Linked DNA regions of Homo sapiens: all the other regions are linked to region 2. Evidence: promoter capture Hi-C in human tissues and cell types (Jung and others, 2019). All regions are on one chromosome and are shown on one strand. Each heading gives the region's core, a stretch centred on a gene start or on the middle of the fragment in contact. The rest is flanking DNA. Distances are from core to core; before and after follow the strand shown. Region 1 overlaps ATP8B4 (ATPase phospholipid transporting 8B4 (putative)). Region 2 holds the start of SHC4 (SHC adaptor protein 4). Region 3 overlaps GABPB1 (GA binding protein transcription factor subunit beta 1). Region 4 has its middle 28 kb from the start of ATP8B4.

Evidence for each region. The method cuts DNA at HindIII sites, captures the fragments that hold promoters and counts their contacts. A contact is called where the count stands out against the background at its distance.
Region 1: a fragment that was not itself captured here is called in contact with the fragment with the promoter of SHC4 in region 2 in 1 of the 25 tissues and cell types used here (lymphoblastoid cells).
Region 3: a fragment that was not itself captured here is called in contact with the fragment with the promoter of SHC4 in region 2 in 1 of the 25 tissues and cell types used here (lymphoblastoid cells).
Region 4: a contact is called between a fragment that was not itself captured here and the fragment with the promoter of SHC4 in region 2, in 1 of the 25 tissues and cell types used here (lymphoblastoid cells).

The regions. Positions count from the first base shown.
Region 1 is chr15:50,046,385-50,052,636 of GRCh38, forward strand. ATP8B4 (ATPase phospholipid transporting 8B4 (putative)) reads right to left here. Exons shown (of 28, transcript NM_024837.4): 4 at 967-1,080. Among named protein-coding and RNA genes, the nearest start is that of ATP8B4, 70 kb to the right of the region's middle. The HindIII fragment of the contact is 5,193 bases long and covers 1-4,127 here.
Region 2 is chr15:48,960,737-48,967,045 of GRCh38, forward strand. It overlaps SHC4 (SHC adaptor protein 4), which reads right to left and starts at 3,183. Exons shown (of 12, transcript NM_203349.4): 1 at 1,695-3,183. The coding sequence starts at 2,279. RefSeq lists enhancers at 1,657-2,159, 2,160-2,661. The HindIII fragment of the contact is 15,905 bases long and covers 1-6,309 here.
Region 3 is chr15:50,304,229-50,311,351 of GRCh38, forward strand. GABPB1 (GA binding protein transcription factor subunit beta 1) reads right to left here. Exons shown (of 9, transcript NM_016654.5): 2 at 5,463-5,570. The coding sequence starts at 5,570. Among named protein-coding and RNA genes, the nearest start is that of HDC, 42 kb to the left of the region's middle. The HindIII fragment of the contact is 7,646 bases long and covers 1,157-7,123 here.
Region 4 is chr15:50,144,104-50,150,943 of GRCh38, forward strand. It overlaps a transcript of ATP8B4 not described here. Among named protein-coding and RNA genes, the nearest start is that of ATP8B4, 28 kb to the left of the region's middle. The HindIII fragment of the contact is 5,114 bases long and covers 2,176-6,840 here.

The DNA of each region.
Region 1 (6,252 bases), core at 281-2,780, 1.1 Mb after region 2:
CAATGTGTGAAAACAAAAACAAAAACAAAACAAAACAAAAACAGAGAAAGAGAAGCCACATCCTGATGAAATTGTGCCCATGAATCCAGTAATACCTGAAATGAGATACCCATGAATAATTTATCTTTTGCTCAAACTAATTAAGATTTCTGTCACTTGAAACATATTCTTAAATAGATATTCAATTAAAGAGAAAACAGTACTCAAATCTATTAATCTAATCCATCTTCTTACTTCTTAGCCATTCTTGACCTACCAGTTTGATCTGCTTAAAGTATGCTAACATAAATACTAGGTAAATAACTGGCTAACATGAACTATTTATGTGTGTGTATAGTATGTATGTGTACAGTATATATGTAGCTTCCTTGATTCATATGTTTTTCCTTCCCAAAATATCCATAAAAGCTGAAATTTCATTTAAAGGCAAATTTTAGTTAGGAGAAAAAGCAAAGGTTACTAAATACCAATTAACCATTCAAAACTGTAAAAGTAGTCACCTACAGTGAAATAACATATAGCATCATCACTTTATATATATTAAAAATATGTCACTGTTCTTAAATGAAAATGAAATGTGCAGAATTAAGCTCTGCAACCTACTCAGTCTTAGTCACCTAAGATTCTGCCTCAACTCTGGCAATCCCCACACTGTAGATGTGAAAGGGAGATAAAGAAAGGAGGGAGGCTGTGAACAGTAATTATTAGGCTCTGGTTTGGTTCAAATAAAGTGCAAGGCTGTGTTTTAAAGTGACCTCAGTGTTTAAAATGATGAATGTACTACTTTTTAACCATTCCTACCTCTCCCACGTTTGTGAAAAGAAACAGCAACAACAAGATTAAAAATCTGATAAAGGATGATTGTACCTAATCACGAACATTTAGCTAAGTAAATTGACTTACTTTTTACAATTTTATGAATACTTTAAACAAACAGATAATAGAGAAATACAACCTAAATATTACCTGTAAAATCAGAAGGCAAAGAAAATAGGCATTTGCCACTCTTTGGAACTGTTCAAATAAATTAATTGGCAAGAAGGTGAGAATATTATATTTCGATGTGTGGATACGATTATCCTGGAAAAGAAATAGCATCATGTTAGTTTGGGGCAAGGCATTGCTCATGATCAGAAATAGCTCTAAAACCTACAAGCCTGAGCCAGAGTAAGAAAGATAAGCCGGTTATCTAGGAAATTTCAACTCTGTGTGGCTCAAGGCCTTCATTTTTCCCAAGATGATATGCTCCTGATACTAGATGAAATTACTGGTCCATGCCATAAACTCACCTGTAACTAAATATGTATCAAATGCAAAAGTCTACCCCTGAGATTTCTGACTTAAGCACTCAACTATTTGGCAGTCATTGCTTGAGTACCTACTGTATGCAGTATTGAGTTCCTGTTGGAGCCCGCAAGGCAGGAGGGAACTTCAGAAATCATCTGGTCCACCTTCCCAAAGCATGACCCTTTTAGATACCTCCGACAAGGGGCTCCTAGGTCTGTCTTAGAAGATCTCCTGGGATGGGAAACTGACTGCCTCGCAAGGCAGCCCGTCCCCATTTCAGAACGGGAATTGCTGGAATGGTCCTTATTATGAGGAACCCAAATCTGCCTCCCTATAACTTCTTTTTTTTTAATAACTATTTTTTTCTACTTTTATTTTAGGTTCAGGAGCATGTGTGCAGGCTTGTCACATGAGAGAACTACATGTCACTGAGGTTTGGTGTATGAATGATCCTGTCGTCAGGTAAAGAGCATGTTAGAGTGGGTGGAGAGCTAGACATTAACAGGAGGGGAGCTCCTGGGAAAGGAAACCTCTGGGAAGGCTCACACCTGAGGGACCACCCAAAATTTGCATATTAATGCCATTTCTAATGCTTGTCGGGGGGCACTTAGTCATATGTGGGTAGGAGAGCGAGAAGGTAGCCACACAGAAAGAAACACCGCGGAATGCCTCTTAAGACACCCCAATAATCATTCACTCTGCAGTTAAAATGTCAGAATGTCGTTAGCTACATGCTAATAAGAAGGGCAAAGGGGGCCAAGCACAGTGGCTCACGCCTATAATCCCAGCATTTTGGGAGGCAGAGGTAGGTGGATCACTTGAGGTCAGGAGTTCGAGACCAGCCTGGCCAACAAGATGAAACCCCCTCTCTACTACAAATACAAAAATTAGCCAGGCATGGTGGTGCACGCCTGTAATCCCAGCTACTGAGGAGGCTGAGGCAGGAGAATCGCTTGAACCCAGGAAGCGGAGGTCGCAGTGAGCCGGAATTGCACCACTGCACTCCAGCCTGGGTGATGGAGCAAGACTCTGCCAAAAAAAAAAAAGGAAAAAAGATGGGCAAAGGGGACATTACCAAGAGAAACCTGGCACCACAAGTACAGATTAGGACACACAAGGAAATTCCAAAGAGATATGTAGGCCCAACAGGTATAGATTTGACCACTATACAACCTTTCTGGGGTGGCAGCAATGAGCAGGGCCACCATCAGACAGGATTTGTACTGATCACCAGCCCACACATGCACATTAACCAACAGTAAGGGAGGGTCCCACAAGCCTAGGTGAGGAGTTAAGGCAGGAGCGGGAAAAACTAGGCAAAGGAGAAAGGTGGAGACTTGAGACAGGGGCAGTAATTTGCAGAAAAAGTCCAGCATGATAAAGCTCCCTGTGCAGAACCTTTGGAACTGTTTTCGCACAGGATCATCCCACTCCTCCTTTGGGGTGTACCCATTTTTCCTACAATAAGCTCTTTACAATATATTTCTTTTCAATAAAATTTTTTGCTATCTTTGTACTGTCTCTTGGTTGAAATCTTTCTTCCAAGTTAGACAAGAGCTGGGACATCCACTCTCCCTAGTAACAAGCATAGTATCCAATAGGTAGTTTTTCAACCCTTACCCCACCCTTTCACTCTCCTCACTCTAGTAATCCCCAATGTCTATTGCTGCTGTATATGTCCATGAGTACTCATTGTTTAGCCCCCACTCATAAGTGAGAACTTGCAGTCTTTGGTTTTATGATCCTGTGTTAATTCACTTCAGATAATGGCCTCCAGCTTCACCCATGCTGCTGCAAAGGACATGTTTCATTCTTTTTTTATGCCTGTGTGGTATTCCATGGTGTATATGTACCACATTTTTCTTTATCCAGTCCACCATTGATGGGCATCTAGGTTGACTCCATGTCTTTGCTATTGTAAATAGTGCCGTAATGAACATACAAGTGCATGTGTCTTTATGGTAGAACGATTTATTTTCCATTGGGTGTATACCCAGTAATTGGATTGCTGGGTCAAATACTAGTTCTGTTTTAGGTTCTTTGAGGAATTGCCACACTGTTTTCCACAATGGCTGAACTTATTTACACTCCTACCAACAGTGTATAAGCATTCCTTTTTCTCTGCAACCTCAACATCTGTTATTTTTTTTTCTTTTTTTACTTTTTAATAATGGCCATTCTGACTGGTGTGAGATGGCATCTCATTGTGGTTTTGATTTGCCTTTCTTTAATGATTAGTGGTATTTAGCATTTTTTCATATATTTGTTGGTCACATGTATGTCTTCTTTTGAGAAGTGTCTTCTTGCCACATAGCAAATTCCATGCCTGGGGTCACCTAGACCAAGTCTAAGGCCTTTCTATGTTGATAACCTTCAAATACTTGAGAACCACTCATAGGACTCCCATAAATATTTATTCTGACTCAGACATTCCCAAACCTTTCAACCATTCTCTATGATTTATTTTACAGACATTTCTTCCCAGTGAGGCTCTTTTGGGTCCATCCCAGCTTCTCTGCATCTCTCTTAAAACATGATGCCTAGAACCAAACACAACTGCAGATCTAGCTCAACAAGTCTATGTATAGTAAGGACTTTGATGTCCTGTGTTCTGAACTATTGTACTGACATGTCCAAAGATTTCATTGGCATTCTGGCAATTGTGTCTCACTATATCTTCATATTAAGTTTTGATCAACAAAAATTCCTAGATCATTTCTACATAAATCACTATTAAATCATCTTTCCCTTTCTATACATTTATAGTTGGTTTTTAAAATATTTATGTATACATCTTTCATATTTCCTATTACACCAGCCTAATGAAAAAATATTTAATCTTGAGTATACTATCTAAAGCATTAAATATTCCTCCCAGCTTTGTGTCATCAGAAAATTTCAAACACATGCCTTTTATATGTTCTTCCAAAGCTGTAGACAAATATACATTAAAAAAAAAACAGGCTAAATGCACCAAAAGAAATTTTAATTAAACCAATAAAGCTATGGCAAACTACTAGAGACCTCTCTACAAATTAATGTTAACAATTTTTTCAGGTTTAATATGTTTTATATAAAACATATTAAATATGTTTTATTTAACCACTTGTAAAGCCATGTAACTATATTATTTGAGGCTTAATTCTATCCTATCCACAAAGATAACATGAGAAATTTGGGGTGACAGATATTACTGAAATTCAGAATCAATATGCCCAGAATAATATTTTTTAAATGAGGTTAGTTTGGGGTAACTTGTTTTAGGTGAACCTACACTGGCTCCTAGCCATCACTCCTATCTGTTTTTTTAGAGTCCAGTCATCTGTTAAATGACCATTTTTAACATTTGATATGGTTGGGCTGTGTCCCTACCCAAATCTCATCTTGAATTGTAGTTCCCATAATCCTCACATGTCGTAGGAGGGACCCGATGGGAGATAACTGAATCATTAGAGTGGTTACCCTGATGCTGCTATGCTCATGATAGTGAGTGAGTTTTCACAAGATCTGACCATTTTATAAGGGGCTTTCCCTTCTTTTGCTCAGCACTTCTCCTTGTTGCCTCCATGTGAAGAAGGACGTGTTTGCTTCCCCTTCCATCATGACTCTAAGATTCCTTAGGCCTCCCCAGCCATGCTGAACTGTGAATTAATTAAACCTCTTTTCTTTATAAGTTACCCAGTCTCAGGTATGTCTTTATTAGCAGCATGAAAACGGACTAATACAACATTTGTCAGGAATCAAGGTGTCCAGTTTTGTGCTACAAGTTCTGGGAAAATAAGAAGAGATGTCAAGAGAAGAGTTTCCAGCTTAGTTGGTCTGATGCACATTAATGTACTGAAAACCGTTCTGAAAGCTAATAATGATGATATTGCAGTATGTTAACTACTCAAGAAGTTAACACACTGCAAAATAGGGTGTTGGTACTGTCAATCACATGTTTTTCTAAAGAAAGGATTTGGAGAAAAGAATGGGGAAGATTAAAGCTAAGGAGAAAATACAGTTAAATAAGGAGCTCACATTCCTAATTCTGTTTTATATTTTCCTTCTAACTTAAAGCTAAAATAGAGGTTAGCCTAGCATCTTGCAAAAAGGACATATGCAATGTCTATAACTGTCAAAACCACGGCAGGAATTATAAAGACACTCTCCTACAAAACTGAGTTCCATATAGGTAAAGAGCTAATTCTGTGGGATAAATAATGCCAAACAGAAACTATGACAATTTTCTCCTATTTGCTTAGCATGACATATAGCAATGATTGTGTTTGTTCTACTCGTTCTGTTGTAACTTAGTCACAGATGATGAAAACCCTCACAGCTTTGAATGGGAACAAGGAACAAGGGCTCCCCCTCCTGGAAAATCTCTGGGCCAGTCTACTTTTCTTTGTTTTTCAACCAAAAGCAAAACACATTTCCATTTCCACTGCCCTGTCCAAGCATATGAGTACTGCATTGGTAAGACCTTAAATCAGGCACATTAATATTTAGTCATTTCATAGGCTATAGGCCTACAGTCCAATCTGAGTACAGTTCATTCCATAATAAGGCACAGAAAGATCTTCACCACTATCCTCTCAGAAGTACTTTCCCACCATGAATGACTACAAACATCCCAATCCAGAAGAAAAGGAGTAGACTCCACGGAGCCTCTTTGGTGCTGATAAAAGCCAAACTAGAGGCCACGGCATTAGCTTGTTAGTGAGGAGGAATGGTTAACAGATTCCATGATGAGGTAGGCTTGGGCTCACAGTCACAGGTGATGCCAGACCAGGGCAGGGTCCCACATAGTGGGAAAGTGCCTCCCCGTAAATGAATGTGAGGAAGCACATGTTCCCTGTGGAAAATGTGCTTCCAAGAGGGAGAAGGGCAAAGATGAGCTGAGGCCCATTATTCCTCCAAGATTGGCCCATCGGGTCAATGACTTCATCTCACATGTGGCAGAGTAGTAATGGAGTTGGGAGA
Region 2 (6,309 bases), core at 1,933-4,432:
TACCTACATATTAGCATTATTTACAAATAATTACATTAAATTTAATATGTCAAAAACAAACTTAAAATGAGTCCATTTCCTAATTTACTCTGCTTCAGTCATTGGCATCACTGATGTCATTCTGAGACTTCAATTTGAAAGTTTTTTTTTCACCCTTTACAACCCTCCATCAATAATCAATCACAACCCCAATAAACAACAATGGTAACAAAATAATCAATCTACCCACTGCTCCATAAATGTTCACTACTCTATTAGTTATATTATGATTTGAAATGATCTGCTTAATCTCCCAGGGTTGTTGAGGCTTCTCTCATTCTTCTGTCACAGAATGCCTTACCATTCACCTCCTTTCTCTCCTCTCCACCTTAATCAGTGTTCTCATTGCCTCATACCTAAACTCTCAGAGTATCTTTCTTACTGTCCTCCAAGTCTCTAATTTTTCCCTGCTTCAATCCATGTCAAATAAATCAACCAACTGGTCTTTTAAAAATTACTTTCAGCAAGTCATGCCCTACAAACCTAGGAGGATTCTCATTTATCAATCACAGTATTTACAATCTCCTCATTTGGCATTTAAGAGCTTCAGTCAACTTCGGTCTCCCAAGCTACCCGTGATCTCTATTTGTCTTTATTCAACTCATACTTGTTTGAGTACTACAAGCCACCCCCTCCCTCAGTCACCCACTATTCTCCAGCATTCCCCTTCCTCCTCCATAAGGCCCAGCCTGTGTGATGCTCCCCTGCAGCCACCACAGTGACTTTGCTCCTATTCTTGGCCTACCAGGAATCCCCTCCTTTCTGCCAACCCAGATCTGACATTTCTTCCAAGATTCATCTTCTCCTGAGGGTTCCCCATGTGAATGAATCCCAGATCACATAATCTTTCCTTTTTTCTGAATTCCCTCAGCATTCTCATATTAGCTATCTATTGCTAAGTATTATTATCTTAGTATTTCGCATGTATTCATTGATCTCATTGAAATCTGAGCTGCAAAAGGGCACAGGCCAAATCTTCATTTGCCCACATCTTGACTGAGCAAGGACAGATACAAGGCCAGTAAGGACCTTGATTTTGCCCATAGCTCATGGACAAGGCCTACTTGCTGCAGCGTAGGCAGTAAAGGCAATAAATGTGCACCGGAGAGCTAAGACTAGCTCCTGGCACAAGGTTAGAGACTCGGACGTGTTTTGAGAAGTGTTTGTTAAATGCTGAAATAAATTTTTAAAGAATAATTCAAGCCCCTTACACACCATGTGTTTCTACAGCACAGAAATCTTTACTGTATTCATCCAAAATACAATGGCCAGTATAACCTACCAGGTCTCAATCACTGATCAGATTTGAAGTCCTTGACTCTTTTTGGCCAGAATACTAGGTCCAGCGGGGACAAAGTGGTGCCATCAGCTGCCTCTATCAGAACTTGCCTCTACACCTGCCAAGTACCCACAAGTTCATGTCCTACAAGTTAGCACCGGTTCATGTCCTTGAACCAAAGGCTGCCTGACTCCAGTACAAGTCAGATAGTTGTAGGGACATATATAAACCCAGCTCCCCTCCGCCTTGGTCCAGTTGAATCATGTCCTGTCCAAACACAGAACCCAGGCAGGTAACATTAGACCCCTTGCAGAAAGCAGAGAAGATGCCCCCTTCCACGGAAGTTCTTAGAGGGCAGAGAGGAAAATGGACTTACCCTCACACAGTAGTTCATGCCCATCCCCAACAGGTGCTGTAGAAAGTGCCTGTCCTGCCTGCTCCTAAGTGTTGGCTCCCCAGGGCCAGGAAGCGGGCACGAATCAGGGGTTAGGGCGGTTGCCCTGTGTCCCACCAGGTCCTGCTGCGGTGGAGGTGCAGTCCCGGACCTACTTAAACTGGTTTCTGGGGAAGAGGGGCCGCTGGAACCTGGGTCCCGGCTTTCCTGGAGCTTCAGCCGAGGCACCTCTTTGGTACCCAGGCAAAAGTTTTTCAGACTCAGCAAAGTGGCCGGGTTGGCCAGCTTCATGCTTGCCATGCGGGGGATCAAGGTGCACAGTGGGGTGGGGCTCTCCTGCGACGGCAAGGTGGCATCTTCAGTCGGCAGGTGAGGTGCCAGGGCGGGGTGGGGAGGCTGCGGCGAGCCCTTGTTCCCGACCGAGCCTCCGGAGCTACCTTCGTCCAAGGACGTGATCGACTCGTTCCGAAAGCGGCTGTACTTGGCCCTGTGCAGCATCCCGGGGTGCCCGAAGAGTCCTACATACAGCACGAGTCCTGCCAGGCTGTCCTGGCCGCGTTCTCGCATAGCCTTGGCAGTGCTGAAACAGGATACTGTTGCATAAATCGCCTCGTCGTCTGGTAGATAAACGGTGCAGACATCAGATACCTCAACGCCCGATGCAACTCACAGCAGCCACCTCTCCAACTCTGCTCTCGAGCTCGCCCACCTCGGCTCCCGGCCCCTTAAGGGTGACAGCCCATGGGGGAAACGCCTCCCCTGCTCTGATTTCAGTCTCTCCCTGGCCCAGGCAGAGGCACCAGTGTTCTCGCCTTGGAATCCTTGTCGGGAGAGCCTAGACCCAGGCTCCCGGCGGCGCGGGTCGCTCACGGCCAACTCTTAGGCGCAGAACCCGGGCGAGCGCCGGTCGGGGGGCCCGCTGCATCACTAGCCTTGCAGGAGCCTAGTAGAAATATTTAGCACCCGACTCCCACCCTCACCCCAGCCTTCTGTTCTGCACACAGGAACTTTCGAACCTGCTCCCTTCGGCTCTCACAGGGCGGGGCAAATGACTGGCCTATTAACCCTTTATTTGTTCCAGTGATTGTTCATTTAAAAAGGAAAAAAAAATGTATCTATGAACCAAAGGCCCTTTTGCCTGGGTTCGTTGATTCCAAAGGCTGCCCTCTCTTGGAAGATCTTGTCTTGCATCCCGTTCTGGGCCACCAGCCAGGAGTACTACTGACGGGCGCTGCTCCGCATTGTTTCACTGACTTGTGATGGGTCCGTGTTCCTCAGATCCCCTCCCAGCCTGCCTACCCTCGCTCAGAGCTTCCCTCCCTCCTGGATTCCTCTCGGAGCTTTTTTCAGAAGCCCATTTGCAGCCGAAAGCTGAGATGTGCAGGATGATACGCAGCGTGTTGAAATTTTTATGAATGAACTTTGCCGAATGAATTTCTCTGTGTGTGTGCAAGCTAATAAATCTGTGAATGAAGCTGAGAATAGCTGTAATTGACTGACGGTCTCAGAGGTGCTTGGTTTTTATCCAATCAGGAGGCAGCTTGATGACTCATACACCATAAATATACTAAACTAGTAGCCGAGAGAAATAAAGCTAGCGGGAGAGGAGGGACGTATTTTATTTTGTGGTATCTGATGAATGAGTTAAAAGGAAAGGCAATCTTTACTACAGATCATTAGCCGGGGAGCAGCAGGTTAAAAGATCTATTTTCTTTCTTGTTGAGATGGCCGGGAGGGCAGAGCAGAAGAGCTAAAAATTAGACCCATTGTTACAGGGATATTAGGACATATGGTTCACAACTCCTGTGGGAAGCCATGATGCATTTTTCTTAGAAACATAGTTCTTTTTTTATTGATTGTTGGTTCCATCTTCCGTCTGGTGCGACTTCCTGTACCTATCAAATGCATCCTGAAGACATGATGACAACTGCAAAGGCTTAGCACACAGGAAGCCAAAACCAGAGCTGGGAAAAGGAAATGCAGGTTCTTCAGGAATGGAGAAGAGGAAACTGCTGAAACACTGGGGGTGTGGGGTGTCGGGGTGGGGTGGAAATCACACATAGGAAGAGATAAAGAACTCTCAGAAAAGATTGCATTACTCCGTGTCTCAAGGCTTTGACATCTGAAATTGTTCATTAATTAAAAAATTAAGACAAACTGGCAACCAAAGGAATTAAGGGTGCCACCTTCATTATCTTATTGTCCCTAATGCTGGATTAGGCTTATGTATATTCATGACTTTGGGAGCCTGAGCTCCCTTGGGATCCAAACACAGGTTCTGAATTAAATGGTTGAGAGTGACCAGTGAAAGCGGCATCCTCCTCCCAAGCTCCCTGGTCCCCCAGGGAAATAAAGCACCCATCACATCCTGTCTGCCAAGCCTGTTCAGACATTTCTTTCCCTGGAAAGGCCTTTCTGCATCTTCATAAATCTTCCCTTCAATCCTTGTTGACCTCCTTTTCCCTGCCCTACATCTCCTCCTGGCAAAACTGAGGGAAGTAGCTAAATCAGTTGGACCCCACATCCCTGGGGCTGAGGAGACAGGCTCTGGGCAAGAATATTTACCTCTCATTCCTCCTCATTCCTCATCTGCTTTCTTCCTCTCATTTTTCCTGCCTTCCCCTGGGTCCCTGGGTCCCTGTGTTGCTTCTGTTATGCTATGATGACCTCATTATATGCTCCCTTTAGAAAGTTACTTTACCTCTCCGTGCCTGAATGTCCTCATATGTTGGCAGCAGCCATCTAATGGGGTTGTTATGAGGGCTTACGAGGCCCAATGCTCCATACAGTGCCCATCTCACTAAGTACATGTGGGCAGTATGAAAAAATGGCCATTGGAACCAGAGCTACCTCCCCTTGAAGCTCATATTCTTAACCCTCACACTGCAGAGTTTACATCATTCTAGGCAACTAAAAAGAAAAATTAGTACAAAGTGGGAGAAGCTAAGAAACTCAACATTGTCCAAAGAAAACAATTTTTTAAATCAGGTGGGCCTGGAGAAGGCTGGAAAGGACATGGGCCTGCCTGGCTGATAGGAATCCTTACAGAGGTCTCATGACTGCAGGATGGGGTGTCCAGGGGAGCCAGCTCATCTAGGTAGGCACCATGCTGGCCAGACTCCAGGAGCCCAGACCAGCCTACATGCCTCAGAAAGTGCGAGTCCTGGGAGGGTTGGGGGTTGCGAAGTGGGACTAAGTAAGGTAAGAAAGCAGTCATGGCCATTGTGGGCTCCTTCTCTTCCCAAAGCCTAGAGACCTTGGCTGTCCTGGGTAGCTCTGCTACAGCGTTTTACGAGGGTGAAAGAGACCAGATCTGCAACTGGAAGTGGGGAATAGCCTCTAGGCTGAGCCTGCCCAGCTGGACCACTCTCTCAGTCCTAACAGCCCAAGAGAAGGCTCGTTGATTGAATTGCTTTTCATTCTAGGTAGATGGGTGGGTAAAGCAGATGGTTTGCTTTTTCCAGGGCATTAGAACATCCTCTTCAATTAGTCATGATTAAAATAATATTAATAAGAGCTACTATTTGTGGAACACCTGACAGTTTACCTACATTCTGGTTCAATTATTATAACAAATTGTGGATGCTTGGATTATGTTCCTCACTGCCTTACAGATATGAAAATGAGGCTGAGAGAAAGGGCAGTGACTTGTTCAAGGTGCTCCAGCTGTTGAGCAATGATCTTGGGATCCCTCTGGGCCTGATTGCAAAGCCTCTGCTGGCAGCCACTGTACTCTGCTGCCTCCCAGGGGACCAGAGAGCTCAAGTCTAGTTTCCAGGCCTATGATGGCTACAGGGCATCTTACTGCTTCCTAAAGCTCTGAGAAATGACTGGACAGGAAGATGAGCTGGGGATTTTTGGAGGTTCTAGGGTTGTTGGGAAGCCTACCCCTGAGCTGGCCCTCACAGATCAATGAGATCAGGGCTGGCAGAATATTTTCCTATCTATGGTTTTCCTGTATCTACCCCTCCAAAACCCCCAGGGAAAGTGTATTTAGCCCAAAGATCATTTATCAGAAGATAATACTAGACTAGATATCTCAGGAAACCTTTGTAACTGGGCCACTACCTACAAGCAGTATGCACTCAGCAGCAAAATGTAATTGGATGAACATTAATCTGGGAATTCCAGAACCAGCTGTGGGATTTTGAGTAAGTTATTTAACCTCTCTGAGACTTAGGTTTTGTATATGTAAAATGTGCACAATAATAATAACATCTGCTGAGCACTAACTCTAGATCAGGTCCTGAACTAAGTGTTTCACATTTAAGCCCCCCAGCAAGCCTATGCAGCAGGTGCTATCTGACATTTACTGACTTGCCCAAGTCACATAACCAGGAAGTGGTAGTTGTGGTGTAGAATCGAGCACTGACTCACTCCAAACTATGCCCTTAACCACTGTGATATGATCCAGTGTATATGAACCTAACTCCTACTGCATGCTCGATAAATGTTAGTTCTTGCTCCTTTCTCCTCCTTGGAAAGCATACCTATAAAATTCACCCTAAATACCTCACAAGTAACAACATGAATAATAGATAAGAAAAACCATTATTGTCATTAAATCATCTAAGAACCATGAATGCCTCATCATTGC
Region 3 (7,123 bases), core at 3,730-6,229, 1.3 Mb after region 2:
CATAGCAACTCAAAACTCAAAAGAAATGCCTAGATTCATGCTTATCACATCCTCTTCATAGACATCTTGAAGAATTCCCAAACACTCTCAATGAAGAAGAAAATCCAGTATTTCCTTTAATTCAAACTTTCTTTCTTCATTATTTTTTATCAGATAAACTGCCTGAACAAAATTAATTTCATTAGAAATTAAGATATAGAGGCCGAACGTGGTGGCTCACGCCTGTAATCCCAGCACTTTGGGAAGCCAAGGCGGGTGGATCACTTGAGGTCAGGAATTCAAGACCACCCTGGCCAACATGGTGAAACCCCATCTCTACTAAAAATACAGAAATTAGCCAGGCGTGGTGGCATGTGCCTGTAATCCCAGCTACTCAGGAGGCTAAGGCAGGAGAATCGCTTGAACCCAGGAGGCAGAGGTTGCAGTGAGCCGAGATCGCGCCACTGCACTCCAGCCTGGGTGACACAGCGAGATTTTGGTCTAAAGAAAAAAAAAAAAAAAAGAAATCAGAGATAGAGTTTGAGAAATTTTTCTGTGTATTAGAATGTATTCCTCATACCAATCACACAAAACTTGCTAAGTTAACTTCGTCTGTAAAATTCATCTCAAATAAATGTAACAGTGTACATTTTTACTTTAAGTGGATCAAAATTGTTTTGTAGGTCTTAAAAAATTCACGTATTGAAACATCTCAGTGATCTTTTTAAAGGGATTTTTTTCAAAGGAAAAATCTTAGGTGCATTTGCCAAAGTTGAATCAGGACAAAACCAAAACAGAGCCCAATTCTCCTGAAATTGGTTCCATGTGGTCTAGTCATTAAATTGACATCCACAATACACAGAGGGAGTACTAAAATGTGAGGGAAGGAAGATTAAGTTCTATCACATGCATTTAAAGGCACAGAAAATCCCTATAACCCTCTGATTACCACATCACTTGATATTCCAAAGAACTAAGATATTTGGACTAAGGAAATTTACACATATAAACAGTTTATTATGTTATGAAGAGATTAAGTGAGATATATGTATAAAGGTCCTTAGTCCTATCTCTCTATCTATCTATCTATAGATAGAGAGATAGATATATTTTTTGTTTGTTTGTTTGTTTAATTGTTGTTTGTTTAATTAGAGACAGGGCCTCACTGTGTTGCCCAGGCTGGGGTGCAATGGATATTCATAGGTACAATTATCACACACTACAGCTTTGAACTGCTGGGCTCAAGCAATCTGTCCACCTCAGCCTCCAGAGTAGCTGGGACTACAGGCACACACCAACAAACCCAGCTAAACCTTACATTTTTAAGAGAAGGTCATCCCAGCAGATCAAAGAAGATCCTTAAACAATCCTTTCTTTCTCCATGCTTTGTCAATTTTTCTTTAACTAGCCTTTTCTATACTCTTAAATTTCAGTATTTAATGAAAATATCTCAACAGCCCATTTAGCAACCAGGAGCTTTGCTCAGTTTGACATTAGGATCTACTTTTTTATTTTTGTCTTCTGAGACTTTCCCTTCTTGGTTATTGACACAAAATATATATACATATATGCAGGGTTTTTTGTTTTTTTCTGAGACAGGGTCTCACTCTGTCACTCAGGCTGGAGTCCAATGGGGTGATCACAGCTCACTGTACCTTCAAACTTCTGAGCTCAAGCGATCCTCCTCCCTCAGCCTCCCGAAGTGCTGGGATTATGGATATGAGCCACCACACCTGGCCATGTAGTTTTTGTAGCTTTTTGGGTTTTTTTTTATTCATTTTTTTAGAGTCAGCTTCTTGCTCTGTCGCCCAGGCTAGAATGCAGTGGAGCTATCGTAGCTCACTGTAACCTCTAACTCCTAGGCTCAAGCAATCCTCCCATCTCAGCCTCCAGAGTAGCTAGGACTACAGGCTGAGCCACCATGCCTGACTAATTTTTTTCTTTTTGTTTGAGATGGGGTCTATGTTGCCCATGCTGGTCTTGAACTTCTGGCCTCAAATAATCTGCCACCTCAGTCTCCCAAAGTGCTGGGATTACAAGCGTAAGCCACTGTGCTCAGCCAATATATGTAGTTTAAGGCAAACACCTGTGAATCAACACCATAGTCTAGAAATAAAACACTGCCAGTAATTTAAAATCTGGCCAGGCGCAGTGGCTCACGCCTGTAATCCCAACACTTTGGGTGGCCAAGGCAGGTGGATTGCCTGAGGTCAGGAGTTCGAGACCAGCCTGGCCAACATGGTGAAACCTCATCTACTAAAAATAAAAAATTAGCTGGGTGTGAGGGTGGGCGCCTGTTATCCCAGCTACTTCGGTGCCTGAGGCAGGAGAATCACTTGAACCCGGGAGGCAGAGGCTTCAGTGAGCCAAGATCATGCCACTGCACTCCAGCCTGGGCAACAGAGCGAAACTCTGTCTCAAAAAAAAAAAAAAAAAAATCTTCCCACATGCCACTCCCTGATCACAAGCCCCTCCCCCAGCCCCAGAGGTAACTAATATTTTGAATTTTGTGACAAGCATTACTTAGTTTTCTTTGTATCACTTATCCCTAAAAAATATACTTTGGTTTTGCCTGTTTTGAGTTTTATTTAAACAGAATTATACTGCATGTATTTCTCTGTGACTTGCCTTCTTTTGCTTGACACTGTATTCATGAGATTCACCATGTTAATAACTGTAAGTATAGCTTACTAATTTTCTGTGTTCTATAATATTCCATTGAATGAGTAAACCACAATTAATTTAACCAATCTACTGATGAACATTTAGATTGTTTCCAGTTTTTGTGTTATTATGAATAATGTTGCTGCTAAATACAGTAGTCTTGTATATGTTTCAGGCACATGAACAAGTCTTCTCTCGGGAATAGTCTTAGAAGCCCAACTGCTACATCATATACTATGCACATCTCCAAATTTACTATGTGCTGCCAAACTGTCTTCCATAACGATTATACCAATTCCATACTTCCACCAAAAATATTTGAGAGTTCCCACCATCTCCTCACCAAGCCTTGGTACTGCTCAACTGTTTTTGCTAATCTGGTGGATATATAATAGTATTTCATGATTTTACTTTGCATTTGCCCCAATTTTAATGTAGTTGAGTATCTTTTCATGTTTATTGATCAAACTTTCTCCTTGGTAAAGCACCATATCCAGTCAGTCTTCTATTGCCTTGTCTTTTTATTGCTAACCCATGGGAATTCCTTATGTATTATGGATACTAATCCTTCTTAAGATCTTTCTGTCTTTGGGAGGCCGAGGCGGGCTGATCACGGGGTCAGGAGTTCAAGACCAGCTGGCCAACATATTGAAACCCCATCTCTACTAAAAATACAAAACATTAGCTGGGCTTGGTGGTGGGTGCCTGTAATCTCAGCTACTTGGGAGGCTGAGGCAGGAGAATCACTTGAACCCGGCAGGCGGAGGTTGCAGTGAGCCGAGACTGAACCATTGCACTCCAGCCCAGGCAACAGTGTGAGACTCCATCTCAAAAAAAAAAAAAAAGATCTTTTTGTCTTGAGGTACTACAGCATCACTATGATATATCTAGATATAGATTAGTTTTTAAATTGATCCTGCTGGAGATTTGTTAGGCTACTCAAATCTGTGGGCTGCCATCTTTCATCAGTTCTGGAAAATTCTCAGCAATTACCTCTTTGAATTATTTCATCCCTATTTTTGCTCTTTTTGTGGATCTATGATCAGATGTTAGACTTTCTCACATGATCCTTCATGATTCCTAACATCTCTTTTACATTTTCTATCTATTTTTATCTGTGACATAGTCTGGATCATTTTTTTTTTCATACCTTTCAGTTTACTAATTTTCTCTTTAGCTGTTTCTAATCTGTTACTAAAATTTTATCTCAAGTCCTTATAGGTCTGCTTCTGTTGACAGTTGTTTTAGCAGATTACTGTCCAAATTGGCATGTGTTCATGTGTTTAGTTATTTCTGACTGCTCACTTTCCTTTGAATTTCATTTGTGGATATGAAGCCTGGGATGAAGGCAGGTTCCTCCAGAGCAGATATTCATTTGCTTCTGTCAAGAGCCTGGGGTAATCCCTAGTCCAAAGATCACTTCAAATTCATTTCTCAGTTTACAGTTTTTTAGACTACACAAGTATTTATGAGTTCAGGCTGCAAGTGTGTAAAAAGGATGCCTTGTGATTCCAAATTCTCACCATCAGATTGTTTTCCTCTCTCCATTTGATGTCTTGGTTCACATCAGCTTATTATCTTTGCAGCATCACGGCAACAGGGGCAAGGGCAGGAGCAGACAGGAGGAGGGACAGGGTATTCCTGCTTTATCCCTACACTGAAGGTGCAGCTCTTTGGGATTCCAGAATTATGAGATAAGATCTCCTATCAGACTTCTCTCCATGAACACTCTCAGGTCTTTAGCTTTAGTACCCCAAGCCAGTGAGGTGGAAAAACCACCAGACAAGTGTGAGTTCACCTAATGTTCTTTAGGGTAAAATTTCTCTGGGTTCTTGCCTTCACTTAGTTTTTCAGGTTGATAATCTCTTTCTTTCTAATTCAGCAGTGTACTTAAGAAGACTTTCTTTAAAATATTTCATCAAAAAGTCTTTATTCTTTAAAGATTTATTTATTCTTTAAAGAAACATTTATGGATAAAATGATATGGTCCCTGGAATTTGCTTTAAAATAATACAGAACAAAAAATAATACAGTAGACAGAGTTATAGAGGAAACAATATTCATCATGATTTGATAATTTTTGAAGTTGGGTAAAGGGTATTACAGGGATATCGTTGATATATATTTGAAATTTTCTATAATAAAAAATTTTGTTTTTTCATGAAAAATGTAAAAAGAGAAAGAAAGGCAAAAACGGCAAAATCAAAAATCTGGAATTTTTAGTTGTTACCAATGGGCAGGTTAATTCAGATTCCTAGCATTCCATATCCACAAGACAATACTTTTTTATTTGCCCCCAGAATTAAAGAGTTATTTTTTTTTGCCTTCCCCACAACTACCTTCTTTCCATAGTTGTCAAGATCTCATTCCCATTCCTTTCTTCCTCTTTCGTCATGTCTGCAACAGTTTTACAAGTAATAATTGAAACATAAACTTGTTTTTCTTTTAGGAGTGACTATTAACACTAACTCCAATCTTTATCAGTATCTTTCTGAATTATAAATTCTACCTGTGCTATTTATAAGGCCTTTAAATTAAATCCCAAGCAGATACATTTTTATATTCATGCCACATTAATGCACTCCACAGTTTGAAAGAAAAACTCTTTGTGGATGAAATATTTGGATAAGGTTGTCCAATATCAAAGAAAATAATATAAACCACTTCTTTTAGGACAGTTATAATTCTAAAATAATAAACACATTTGCAAAAATAATAACTTTTTACCACTTATAAACACAATACTGACTACATTTTTCTCTGCAAAAACTCAAAAATGAGAAGGAAAAAGAACACACAATATTAAAATCATTCTTTACCCAGTCTGTAGTAAAGGGAGCTCCATTTGCCATCAAAATACGAACTTCATCATCTTGACCTGCTCGTGCCGCTTCTAAAAGCTTCTTTCCCAAATCTACCAGGGACATCTAAACAAAACATAGATGAACTGAACATCAAAATCTCCATTTATACACTATGACATGACATTTTCCCTTCCTGTCTTTATTAATAAGTCAGTTCTCAATTATCCCTTCAAAAGAGTGTGCTATGGTTAATTTAAAATTACAGATCATACAAAAGCAATTTATATTTGGATTTTAGAATCCATTTTCCTTTCTCATTAAGTTTTTACTTAGAATAAAAGTAGTTTAAATTCTCCAAATACATCTGGTAAAAGATAGAAGAGGTAAGTAGCAGAGAAAAGCTGGCCTAAATTTTTATTTATTTATTTTTTTCTTGACACAGAGTCTCGGCCTGTCACCCAGGCTGGAGTGCAGTGGCACGATGTTGGCTCACTGCAACCTCCGCCTCCTGGGTTCATGTGATTCTCCTGCCTCAGCCTCCCAAGTAGCTTGGACTACAGGCATGCACCACCACACCCAGCTAATTTTTCTATTTTCAGTAGAGACAGGGTTTCACCATGTTAGCCAGGCTGGTCTCAAACTCCTGACCTCAAATGATCTGCCCGCCTTGGCCTCCCAAAGTGATGGGATTACAGGCATGAGCCACCCCACCCAGCCAAGCTGGTCTAAAATTTAAAACTGGCAACTAATTGTTTTTACTGGAGGGTTTGCAGCAATAAAATTTTTCATAAAAGTAAATAAAGTGCAAGATATTGTCATCTGTTGTTGGTGCAAATTAAACTAAACTTAGCATAAATTTTTTTGCAATAGTAAATGTGTTCAAAATTTTAAAAAACAAATTTTCTGCCCTCCTACATGCAATGTATATTTAAGTTCTTGCAGAAAGTAAACAATTCACATTCTATGAAAATACTAAAAACAGTAATAGTATTACGAATAGACTGTCTCATTAGAGGCTAGAGGCCAGGTGCGATGGCACATCCCTGTAATCCCAGCAGTCTGGGAGGCTGAGGCAGGTGGATCCTTGAGGCCAGGAGTTCGAGACCAGCCTGGACAACATGGTGAAACCCTATCTCTACTAAAAATAAAAAATTGGCTGGGCATGGGGGCTCACACCTAGGGTCCCAGCTACTCAGGAGGCTGAGGCACAAGAATCACTTGAACCCAGGAGGCGGAGGTTGCAGTGAGCCGAGATCATGCCACTGCACTCTAGCCTGGGCAACAAAGTAAACTCTGTCTCAAAAAAAAAAAAAAAAACCAGGAAAGAATATCTTGTGCCTTGAATTTAATATATCTGAAAAGGCTAATGTCCCAGCCTGGGATGTGAGGTGTGCATGGGTGTGTATGTATTTGTGTCTTCTTGAATAAGAAATATTGAAATATATGTCAGAAAAAAGATTATGACAGTAGAATATAGGTAAATTAAGATTTGAATGTATCACAAACATTCAAATTCAAGGGATGACAGTTCTGAGAAGAAAGTTTCCAAACCCAGAAAGACTATCCAGCTGGAAGATTACTCAATTATGTCATACAGTATCCTAAGTAAGGAAAAGCAGAATTTTAGGCCCATGGGGAAGGGAATATATGGAATCCCTGAGATTTACAATGAAAAA
Region 4 (6,840 bases), core at 3,483-5,982, 1.2 Mb after region 2:
AGGGTTGTGCCTTAGGAAGGCAATCCTGGCCACAATGTGGAAAATCGATTTAGAGGAGGGAAGAATGGAAGCAGGGATGCCAAGTTGAAACCTTAGTCCATTTCCCAGTATGAAAAGCCTAAAGTATGATGATGGTGGTAGAAATGCAAAGGAGGGGAAGAGACGTGAAAAACATTCTGAGATAATTATATTGAACATGATAGACTTTTGCATTCACAGTGTATTAGTCCATTTTTCACACTGCTGTAAAGAAATACCTGAGACTGGGTAATTTGTAAAGAAAAGAGGTTTGATTGACTCACAGTTACGCATGGCTGGGGAGGCCTCAGGAAACTTACAATCATGGCAGAAGGCAAAGAGGAAGCAAGGCACATCTTACGTGGCAGCAGGAGAGAAGAGCAAAAAGGGAAAATGTCAAACACTTACAAAACCATCAGATCACATGAGACTCACTCACTATCTTGAGAACAGCATGGGGGCATTACCTCCCACCAAGTCCCTCCCTTGACACATGAGGATTACAATTCAAGATGAGATTTGGGTAGGGACACAGAGCCAAACTATATCACAAAGTTAAGGCATGTTTTCCTTCACTTCATCATGAAAGAATAACCTAATATGAGATGACATCATTTGCAATTACCCTTGTTTTTTTTTTTACATCTTTCTTCCTATCCACAGGGCCTACCTTTCCCTAACTATCAACTCATATCTATGATTTCCTTCAGCACCTTTTTCAAAGTTCACTTACTCCTGGAAGCCGTCACGGACTACTCTCAGCTGATCAGATCACTCCTGCCCTCTACACTTATGGAAGCAGTTGCTTCCATATCATATTACACTACTGAATATCGTAGAAAATATTTCGTTCTTAAAGCCTAGCTGAGCCATGAAAAGCAGTGACTGATATTAAATAGAACTTTTTGCAAGATCTATTGAGTTAACCAGGGGTATGGTATTACCTCTACAATCCCAGCTATATGTACCACATCCTAATCTGAGTTAAAATGAACCTTGATATTTAGTTTACTTTTTGGCTTTGACTACTTTTTACTTGTTTTAAAAATCAGGATAAAACAAAATTGAACAAAAAATAAAGAGGTAAAGTGCATTCAATAAAGAGATTTTAATTAACACTGGGCATAAAAATACATTTTACTGAATCTTAAGGGTTTTTTAACATTTGCTGTTTATAGTATCTTGTCTGATTTGAGAGGCTATCAAATCACAGATCAGTCATACATTGATTCAGGATCAGTCTCTTTCTTTTTTCAGTATATTACATTACTGAGGGATAAACTGGATTTAGAGTTAATTTTAAAAGTTAAATTGGTATTACCTGAAAAATGAATCCATTTAAAATATTTCTGCATTGGGTGGGAGTCTGTCCTAAACACACTCCACAGCTCATCATTCCATGTAGGTGCGTCACCCTATCCCAGAACACAAAGGAAACTTATTCTTGGAGTGTTACTGCCATCTAGTGGAAATTTTACTAAATGTGAATAAATTCTTAAGGCTAATTAGGCCCCCTACTCTCTTCACCGCCACTCTCACCATGTCTTTTTTTCTTTTTCCTTCCTTTCTTTCTTTCTTTCTTACTATCACAGGTGCACTCAGGTACACCAAGAAGAGAAAATGCTTGCTCAGTCATTGGGAACTTTTTTGAAAATTGGTGCTTTGTGCCCAGCAAGACAATATTTCTATTTGGCCAAAGCTACTTTGTCAGAAGATATATGAATATGTCCTAATTTTTGCAAAAAAAGAAATGCAGAAAGGATTAACCAGAAACTAATGGGATTGATTACCTAAAGCAAAAGGATGAAAATGAATGAGAAAGATGGAAAAAGATAGAACTCTTCTGATTATATTTTTATATAGTTTTTACTCTTGAACCACATAAATGTTTACTTTTTTTTTTTTTTTTGAGACGGAGTCTCACTCTGTTGCCCAGGCTGGAGTGCAGGAGCGCGATCTCGGGTCACTGCAACCTCTGCCCTCTGAGTTCAAGTGGTTCACCTACCTCAGCATCCCGAGTAGCTGGGATTACAGGCGTCTGCCACCGTGCCCAGCTAATTTTTTGTGTTTTTAGTAGAGACGGGGTTTCACCATCTTGGCCAGGCTGGTCTTGAACTCTGACCTCGTGATTCACCTGCCTTGGCCTCCCAAAGTGCCGGGATTACAGGCATGAGCCACCACGCCCGGCCTACATTTTCAAATATAAAATTTAGTCACCAGGCTGGGAGGACTGTTAAGTTGAACAGAAACAGAAACAAATCAACCTAAGCATGTATCATATAAAAAATGTAATTATTCAGAACAAGAAAAATAATTATTCCAAGTAACTTGTGAATGTGAAATTCTAACTGGCCACCCTCAGGGAATATTCTAAGGATAATAATTAAGAAAGCCTTGAACTTTACCTGGTAAGGTAAGTTTGTCTTTGGTAGTGGTATTGATGTAGTAATTCTGAAACTACTTTGCGTGTGTTTTAGAATTTCAAATAGATAAACATATTGATCTTGCTGGTGTTGCAGGACTTTTCCTTAGTTCAGCTAAAGACAGGGTCCTTTTCCGTCCCATGGTCACCAACATTTAGGCTCATAGATGGTTTGAAGCGTGAGTAAAGCAGGGTTGTATTGGGTAAAAGGGAAAAAAGGGGAAACAGGGATCCTCCTAAGGCCAGAGTCCCTGCTAGAGAACTTCCCACCCACAAGTTCCACACAGGAAGAGGAGGAGCCTTGAATCCCAGGTTCCACACAGGAAGAGGAACCCTTCTGCAAATGTTGTGAACTTCTGTGTCTCCACCCCAGTGTGCACTCTTCCCAGTGCACAAGCCAGTTGGAGTTTTTCCAGGGATCCTCTTCCCACTTGGCTGTCTCACTGGGAACCAGTTTTCCCATTATGGGAGGGTTGTTTTTTGTTTTTTAAAAGAGATATGGAGTAAAGGAAGAAGACGCAAACTCTTTGGTGTTGGGTTACGAAGTTAGAGGTATCAGTACAAATTCGAGGTCTTTAAAACTATGTATTAGCCAGGCACGGTGGCTCACGCCTGTAATCCCAGCACTTGGGGAGGTCAAGGTGGGCAGATCACCTGAGGTCAGGAGTTCAAGACCAGCCTGGGCAACATGGTAAAACCCTGCCTCTACTACAATTACAAGAATTAGTCGGGTGTGGTGCTGCATGCCTGTAATCCCAGCTACTCAGGAGGCTGAGGCATGAGAATCGCTTGAACTGGGGAGGCGGAGGTTGCAGTGAACAGAGATCACACCACTGCACTCCATCCTGGGTGACAGAGAGAAAGAGACACTGTCTCCAAAAAAAAAAAAAAAAAAAAAGTATATACTTCCTATTTTGTCCATTGAAAGAGCCTAGAAGCAATAACCCTCCTGCAGAAGGAGTATACCTGCACCCTGGCTTCCATGTCTAAACACCATAGTCAAAAGACAAAAGCAGGATCCCACGGAGAAATGGTTGATTCCAGGGCTGGGTCAAGGGAAGCACAAGGTGATCCTGGAACATCTTTTGTTTCAGAACATCAGAACATGCTCAAAAGCTGATCGGGACCTGCCAAAAGACACAGGAGCCAACCAAGATCAATGACACAAAAGAATATATAACATTGAATTTTTTGAAAATTGCTGAGTCTATACCCAACCTTTAAAGGAGGAAAAAAAGAAAAAGAAAAGATGCCAATGAATGCATGTGGAAGGAATGATAGAAACAGAAAATCACCCTCTCAGAACCACCATAGAAATAATAGATTCAGGCAAGGATCATCAAAGAGTGCCAAAATCATTCAGTGGGAAATTGGGGCGTAAAAGAATATTTATACAATCTAAAAGTATAACTCCATGCAATACATATTAATTACAAAGAAGAACTATATCTTTCCAATGCATCTAGCAGTTAGCATTTCTACTAAGTGATCCAACTTAATACGAGCAATAATGGGACAATCAGGCAGCAGATGCCTCCTGGTCTGACACACTGAGAAGGACAGAACACCACTTCTTTAGTGTTCCTGCCAAACTGCAAAACCTGAATCTAATCATGAGGAAACATCACATAAACCCAAGTTAAAGAACATTCAACAAAATACTGGCCTGGACTCCAAAAATGTTAATGTCAATTAAAGACCAAGGAAAAGCTGGGGAACTGCTCTTGATTAAAGGAAACATAAAAGACATAAATAATTATATTTAATATTAAATGCAATCTGTAATCTAGATTGGCTTTTGGATGGTTTACAAAAAAAAAGCTATAAGACATTGCAATGGGTTGAATGTGTCCCCTCCAAAATGTAGGTGTTGCCAATATGACAGTATTAAGAGGTGGGGCCTTTAAAAGGGGATTAGGCCATGAGAGCTCCTCCCTCATGAATGGGATTAAGGCCCTTACAAAAGAGGCTTCATGCAGTATGCATTCCTTGCCATTCCACCTTCTGCCACGTGAGGACACAGCATTCCTTTTCTTGGAGGCTACAGCCTTCACCAGATAACCAAACCTGCTAATGCAAAGGATCTTGGACTTTCTAGCCTCCAAAACTATGAAAAAATAAATTTCTGTTCTTTATAAATTACCCAGTCTAAGGTACTCTGTAATAGCAGCACAAAACAGGCTAACACAGATATTATTGAAGTAATTCGAAAACTGAATAAGAATTCATATTAGATAATAATATTAAATGTAATATTAGATAATAAAATTGTATCGACTTCAAGTTTCCCAAGTGTTATAATTCTGTTGTAGTTAGATTACAAAATTCTCTTGTTTTAAGTGATACGTACTGAAAGTATTTAGGAATAAAATGTTATATTGTCTACAACTATCTCTCAAATGGTTCAACATCATTTCATCCATAAGTACTTAGTATGTATCTCAAAAAGATAAGTATCCCTTTTAAAAATAACAATACATCATGCTATTTTTAAAGCTTCCCAGGTGATTCTCTTGTTCATCTATGAATCAATACTACAGAGATGATAAGCAGAACTAATCTCAGGGGTTAAATGTGAATGTGGTGGTGGCAGTTGAGAACATTGTGTTAAGAACAATTCTGACACATGATTAGGCTCAGCCTAAGATAATGCCATGATTGATTGGCTAGGTCTGCCGTAGTGCCCAGTATGTCCCTGTATATTATCTGAGTCATGTCATAAGCATAAAACACAGAAGACAAGAGAGAGTAAGCTATAGGCCAGAAGTTAGAAAGGAGATCCTAGTATCACTGGTAGAGTCTGATCTGGTGATAGACTGCTGACCTCTCTTCCTCTTCAAATCAGTCAGACCTGTTTTCCTGGTTAAACAGTTTATAAGGAAACAAAAGGCAAGCATGGGAGGGGATAATATGTGTATGTGCACTAAGCCTTGAAGCAGATCTCTTTGATCATCACAGAGTCCACTGAGGTGGTAGGAAACAACTGCAGAGAGGAGCTCTTTAGAGAAATAACCACAATAATAATAATGATAATGATGATAATATGCTCAAAAGAGAAGTGAATCTAATGAAAAACTACTTCATTAGAATGAAATTCTAATAGAGGCATTTATCAACCTAAATAGCAAAGAAAGACTCTCTAAAAATAAATGATATGTATTTGGGAATAAGGCATTGCAGTGGGAAAGCACATGCCATAGTAAACTATGTGTGTATTCAGGGCAGTAAAGGAAGACAAAGGCTTTTAAGAGAAAAATTAAGAAAATTTCATAGTTGGCCGGGCACAGTGGCTCATGCCTGTAATCCCAGAACTTTCAGAGGCCAAGGTAGGCGGATCACCTGAGGTCAGGAGTTTGAGACCAGCCTGGCCAACATGGCAAAACGCTGTCTCTACTAAAAACACAAAAATTAGCCAGGTGTGGTGGAGGGTGCCTGTAATCCCAGCTACTCAGGAGGCTGAGGCAGGAGAATCGCTTGAACCCGGGAGGTGGAGGTTGCAGTGAGCCAAGATCACGCCACTGCACTCCAGTCTGGGTGACAGAGCAAGACTCCGTCCCAAAAAAAAAAAAAATTTCATAGTGGTTTTTGAGATAATTATCCTTGGCTACAAGGATCAGTAACAGTAACAAGAGTGACAGCAGGTGAGCTTGAACAGTGAGTTGCTGGGCAAATGTCCACATAAAAGTATTTTTTGCAAAAGGCTGTGATGGTCTTTGTGCAAGGTTGGGAGTTTTGCAGAGTCTTTTGTGATAGTATGTGTTATCAGGCATTTCATGAGAACTTTTCTCTGCATGGCCTACCCCAGATCCATTTCTCAGGGAGGATTTTAACACAATGGACTCCATTTTGATTCTGAGAACTTTCACACTTCCCTCCTTTTCATCAAGATCTTTCTCCAAAAGCATCACTGATCAATCAACCTATAGTTGGATTTTGATGTCCCTCAGTACCAGGATGGATTTGTCCCAGGTTGCTCATCTACACCCACATTTGGAAGGAATGATTGGTGACTACGAGTCATACTGAAACTCTTCTGGCCACATTTGAGCAACAAAGGGAGTTTGAAGCGAAGCTCTCAGGCTAGCCTACCTGGAGTCCATTATTAAGTTTAATTTTGTCTGTTTCGTAGGGGTTTGCTATCATCCCCAAGTTCTAGGCCAGCATTATTCTGTTCAGAGTTGTACCTCTGCAAGAATTTAACAAATAACAAATACAAAGTTTAAAATAAGAAAATACAACACAAAATTAATAGTAATATGACAATTCTAATTTGCATAATGGTTTTGAGACATGAACCTGGGCTAAGGCTAAAGACAACCAATTGAATAAATCAAATGACCATTATCCTGTAAAGTGAAAATGGTTGGCATTAACAGGGGTAAGAGTCTCATTATGATATG